Linked DNA regions of Homo sapiens: region 1 is linked to region 2. Evidence: promoter capture Hi-C in human tissues and cell types (Jung and others, 2019). All regions are on one chromosome and are shown on one strand. The core of a region is centred on a gene start or on the middle of the fragment in contact, and the rest is flanking DNA. Distances in the headings are between cores, read along the strand shown. Region 1 holds the start of NPBWR2 (neuropeptides B and W receptor 2). Region 2 holds the start of SAMD10 (sterile alpha motif domain containing 10).

Region 1 (2,908 bases), core at 362-2,861, 130 kb before region 2:
AAAATTCAGCCCCAATGCACCCTCTCCTCACGGCTGCTAATCACCATCCCCTGACCTTGTGGGCGTCAAGCTCCACTTATGTGACAAACTGTGGCTACAAGCCCCACGCTCCCTCGAGACACACCCACAGATCCCCCCCACCGCCATCCCCAAACTGGCTGAAGAGGAGTGTGAGATATCTCAGCAGGGTTCCCTGACCCCGGACTCAACATCCACATGGCACAGCCCATAGAAGGGTAGCTCGGGGCCCACCCACAGTGTACCCTCAGGCTGGCGACATCAGGGTACTCAGGGCGACTGCCCAGGCTCCTGTCCTAACCAATAGACTTGACAGAGCAACTCTCAGGAAAGAAGGCCGACCATGAGTGTGCGGTGACATCCTTGCAACCCCACAGGCAGCGGGCACAGTCTCGATGGGCAGACACATCTCCCCAGACTGAAAACACACAGTGACCAGGCACGGTGGGTCATGGCTATAACCTGAGCACTTTGGGAGGCTGAGGTAGAGGCTGAAGCTCAGGAGATCGAGACCAGCCTGGGCAACATGGTGAAACCCCGTCTCTACAAAAAAAAACACAAAAATTAGCCAGGCATGGTGGCACATGCCTGTAGTCCCAGCTACTTGAGAGGCTGAGGTGGGAGGATCACCTGAGCCCAGGGAGGTCAGGGCTGCAGTGAGCCATGATAGTGCCACTGCACCCCAGCCTGGGTGACAGGGCAAGACCCTGTCTCAAAAAAGAAGAAAGGAAAGAAAACACAGACCCTCTGACCCAACACGTCTCCGCTGAGGAGCGGCTCTGAGACTGGCGACTGCTCGTGTCAGCTGTGGCGTTGCCTGCAAAGCAGGTCCAGATGCGGCCGAGCTGCACACACACGGGTTGGATAAGCCAGGGTGCGTCCAGCAAGGAAGAAAAGCAGGGAGAAGGGAAGGACTTAAAGACCAACCCAGAGCAGAGTGTGATGCTCACCACCTCTGCAGGACGGCGGGAGAGTTACGTGTCAGCGTGAGAACGTCTTCTCTGCAGCCTTTCACAGCTTGCCTAGGCTGAGTTCCTCTTTTAGCAAAAGACAAAAAAAGAAGGTGGGTTGCCTATGGCCAACAAGTTCTGCTTCCACATGAGGGCATACAGACCCCCCAGATGCCCACACTCAGCCAAGGACATGTAGACCCACTCAGATACAACGCAGAGCTCACCCACAGAGACCCCCATACAGGCAGACACAGGCCCACACACGTACATGTCCTAACTGGCACACACACACAGGAACACACCATGTACACACACAGGGTGGGGCAGGAGACCCACCAAGACACCCATGTTCACAGATAAGGGTGCCCAGGCCCACAGTGACTCCCGGACAGAGGCACAGATGCCTTCAGTGCCCTCTGCCCGAAGACCTGGGCACACCCAGAGGCCCCTGCATGGAGTCCCTTCCTGACACACAGGCGCACACGTGCCTCAGCCGCCCACTGAGGAGTCTGCCTGGGTAAGTGAATGCTGAGGAGACCCTGGGACAGCCGACTGCAGGCGCTACTGCAGCTCAGGGGAAGGTGGGGCCTGCCTTCCGGGCTCCACGTCAGCAAGGGGGATCCGCCTCCCTCCCTCACCAGCATCAGCACTGACACCAGGCTGGGAACCTCGCAGCCGGGGCTGAGGCAGCCAGCAGGGCAGGTCTTGAAACTCCTGAAACCTCAGCTGGAGGTCTGTCAGTGAGGACCACACCTCGCCCTCCATCCCTGCGACTGCCTGTACTGGCCAAAACCAGGAACACACCAAGGCTACCAACTTCTGGACTCGAAGCACTGGACAGGTCAGTGGAGAGAAGAGTAGCTGGACCAGCAGGGTCTGCAGCATCTCTCGGGAGGGTGTGAGGGAGGGTGCAGACTCCAAGACCCCTGAGGGAAGGACCTTCAGATTCAAGGGAGCCAGAGATGAGCTTGGGAGGTGTGTTTCCAAAGGGACCGCTTGATTCTACGCAGCCCGTGCATCTGCGGGTTGCTGGGGCAGGGACGGATCCACATCTCTTCCCAGGAGGGTGGCCAGCAGCTGCTCTCTGCGGGAGGAGGGAACTGATCTGCTGAAGTCTCACCAGGAAGAGGCGGGAGGAGGCCCCCACACACCCCACCAGGCTCCCTCTGGCCCCATGTCCTTGACCTGGCAAAGTGGCCGCAGTCTCTGCCAGAGAACCTGGAGTGGCTGTGCCCTAACAGACGGCCGGATCTCAAAGTCTCTGGTTGTTTTTCTTTCCTAGAATCCAGCCCAAGGAGGCCCCCAACCAGATACCCAACTCCAAGGCACCTCCCACCTGCCCAGGGCGCAAATCGTCAACGGTCCCAGCTACAATGCAGGCCGCTGGGCACCCAGAGCCCCTTGACAGCAGGGGCTCCTTCTCCCTCCCCACGATGGGTGCCAACGTCTCTCAGGACAATGGCACTGGCCACAATGCCACCTTCTCCGAGCCACTGCCGTTCCTCTATGTGCTCCTGCCCGCCGTGTACTCCGGGATCTGTGCTGTGGGGCTGACTGGCAACACGGCCGTCATCCTTGTAATCCTAAGGGCGCCCAAGATGAAGACGGTGACCAACGTGTTCATCCTGAACCTGGCCGTCGCCGACGGGCTCTTCACGCTGGTACTGCCCGTCAACATCGCGGAGCACCTGCTGCAGTACTGGCCCTTCGGGGAGCTGCTCTGCAAGCTGGTGCTGGCCGTCGACCACTACAACATCTTCTCCAGCATCTACTTCCTAGCCGTGATGAGCGTGGACCGATACCTGGTGGTGCTGGCCACCGTGAGGTCCCGCCACATGCCCTGGCGCACCTACCGGGGGGCGAAGGTCGCCAGCCTGTGTGTCTGGCTGGGCGTCACGGTCCTGGTTCTGCCCTTCTTCTCTTTCGCTGGCGTCTAC
Region 2 (2,700 bases), core at 1-2,500:
CTGCTTCCCGAGTGCTCTGATGCAGTCCGGAGACCTGTCTGTGAGAGTGGGACCCATGGTCCCCTCCCTCTGAACCCATGGCCCCCTCCCTCTGAACCAGCCCAGCTGCCCGCCCTCGCCCCTGGTGCGCCCTGTCCGAGCAGAGCTGTACCCTGTCCAGTTGTGTAGAGCTTGTGTGTACTGGTTATGGGCACACCTGTCTGTGTGCGTCCTGTGCGCACACTGCTGCCCTACGCTTTTAGCACTCATATTCTTGAACCCCCATTCAGGCATCTGTCCCTCCAGTGGGACTAGAGACCCCACCCACGCCCGCCAACATGCCTTGGACATTCTGGTGAGGGCCACATCCTTAGCTCCTGGAGAGCTAATTGACGAAATAAATAACCGCAGCTGAGCTGTCGGGAACACGTCAGTACATGAACATGGCTGTCAAGCATGTGGGTGAATTCTGTGTGTGTGATTAGTGGGGTGTGTGCACAGAGGTCACGTGTGCTCGTGTTTTGGGTGCAAGTGCATGACTGTACTCTGTGCATGCATTTCTACATGTCTGTGTGCATCTCTGGTCCTCCTGCTGTAAGACATCCTCCAGAGCCCCTACATACACCCAGGGAGAGCACCCAGGCTCCTGGGCAGAGCAAGCCGAATAGCTGGTTGCAAGCCTGGCCTGCTGCTGCACCAGGCAACCACAGTTCCCTAGCCCAGCCCCATCTCAGCACTTCTCACTGGAGTCCTGGAGCAAACACACCGCTCCGGCCTGCTACAGCCTCCTTGGAGTTCCCCTCTGCCCCATCTCCAGGCAAGCCAAGCCCCTTTCAGTTACAGAGCACTGTACCGCCCCCTCTCCCCCGGGCACTGAGCCAGGTTCTGGGGCTGCAGAGGGAAGGGAGAACCACCCTGATGTTCACAGTGGGGTGGGCGGTAAGCAAGAGTCAAGCTGGTTTCTCCGGGGAAGCGGGTGCCTATTTGAAGGCGAGTAAAGACGTAGGAGACCGAGGAAAGTGTGTGGGAGGCGTTGACCTGCCCCTTGTCCTGGCCCCGGTAGGTAGAAGACCCCTGTGAGATGCCCCTCAGCCCACCCCCACGCACAGAGGGGCCCGACCTCAGAGGACGCCCGGCAGGTTCACGGGGACTCTCCTCCGCGGAGCCGTGCCCAGGGGCGCACGGACGCCCCTCGCCCTGGCGGACAGCCTTGGTGCACGCAGGCCCGCGCGCCGCCGACACACCTCGGAGCTCCCGGAGCGCGCCCGGCACACAGGGCTCGGCGGCAGGTGCCTCGTCGCGCACACTCGCGGGCCGCGGGGACCGGCTCGGGCGCGGGGCCGGCTGGGGCGGGGCGGGGCGGCGGCGCGCGTTCCCCGCCGGCCACACCGGCCGCCCTGCACTCGGCGAGGGGCGTGTGCGCGGGCCTGGCACCCGCGGGCCCCATGTTCACCGAGCTGAGGTCCAAGCTGAGCCCCCCGCGTGGCCGCGCCGGGGCCGTGCGCGCGGGCTTCGGGGAGCGCCGGGATGTGGACGGTGAGCGGGGCTGGATTGGGGAGCGGGGATTTCTCGGGCGGGGGTCTCAGGGACCCAGAGGCACGGGGGCGGGGCGGGACCCGGCGGGCTTCGAGCGGCGGTGGCTGGGGGTATTCGGCGGATGTCTCGGCTCAACGGGGTCCCGTAGCCTTTGTCCTGCTTTAGGGGGCAGCCAGCCTCAGGCCTTGGGGGTCAGCGCGCCCTTGGCTTGGGGTGAGGGGGTGTCAAGCCGGGGCGCCTGTGTCCAGGCTGGCACTACGCTCGGGTCACCTTTTCCTGCGCACGGGGAAAACCCTCCCCCGCTTTTGCAGTGGGGCCGAAAGGGGGCCGAGGTCACATCCCGCCTCGGTGCCCCCGCCCCATTTCCTTCTGGAATCCTGACGTTGGGGCGGGAGGGACCGGACCGACAGACCGCGGGACGGACGGAACTCCCTCCGGGAGTGCAGGCAGGAAATGGGCGGAGCCTGCTTGGCCGGGGCAGGTGCCGTGCGGGCTGAGGAGTCCGACGGGTTTCCCCGGACTGCCGCGCGCTTCTGCACCAGCCCCGCCGCTCGAGGCCCTGCAAAGCCCGGCGACCACGGCGCCTGTCCGCTGGAAGGCGCGGGCTTAGAATAAGCCTTTTCCCACAGCACTAGGGGCCACCTCGGGGCGGTGGCCCACTGAGCACACCCTCTGCTGACCCCAGACCTCAAATTTGGAGTCACCCAGGGGTCCGGTTCCTGAAAGTTGCAAGAATGGGGGCGGAAGGTGTTATGTCTCCTAAGTCTTACAGGCGTGGGAGGACGGGGAAGTAGGATGTGGTTTTCACCGATACTTAGACCTCCTAGACACATCCCCAACCCCTGCCCTGGGTGTGGAGTGGGTGGCTGAGTCTGAGGCCGGGAGGGTCTCTCACTCTAGGGTGGATGGGATGAGGGCCCTAGCGTGGGAACCTCACCTGCCCTGCTGAAGGCCTGGGTGCTAGGGTGCTGTAAAGACAGGGGCAGGCCTGTGCCCACCTTCTGTCTCCCCACAGGCTCTGTTCACTTGCAGATACCATACAGAGCCTTCATTCATTCATTCATTGACAATGAATGTGGGGTGCCCCTCTGTAACCAGACCTGGATCAAGACGCCTGCCTCCCCAGACTCAGGTCAGCAGTGCCCCCAGAGATGATGACAAAGCTCAGATGAAACACTTTAATGC

The links. Contacts are between HindIII fragments. The study calls those that stand out against the background at their distance.
Region 1: the fragment with the promoter of NPBWR2 here is called in contact with the fragment with the promoter of SAMD10 in region 2 in 1 of the 25 tissues and cell types used here (spleen).

What each region holds. Positions count from the first base shown.
Region 1 is chr20:64,106,268-64,109,175 of GRCh38, reverse strand. It overlaps NPBWR2 (neuropeptides B and W receptor 2), which reads left to right and starts at 1,611. Exons shown (of 2, transcript NM_005286.4): 1 at 1,611-1,812; 2 at 2,254-2,908. The coding sequence starts at 2,345. RefSeq lists an enhancer at 1,563-2,063. The HindIII fragment of the contact is 24,186 bases long and covers 1-2,908 here.
Region 2 is chr20:63,978,192-63,980,891 of GRCh38, reverse strand. It overlaps SAMD10 (sterile alpha motif domain containing 10), which reads left to right and starts at 1,250. Exons shown (of 5, transcript NM_080621.5): 1 at 1,250-1,515. The coding sequence starts at 1,425. RefSeq lists enhancers at 646-705, 1,301-1,816, 1,802-2,096 and a silencer at 1,136-1,455. The HindIII fragment of the contact is 26,934 bases long and covers 1-2,700 here.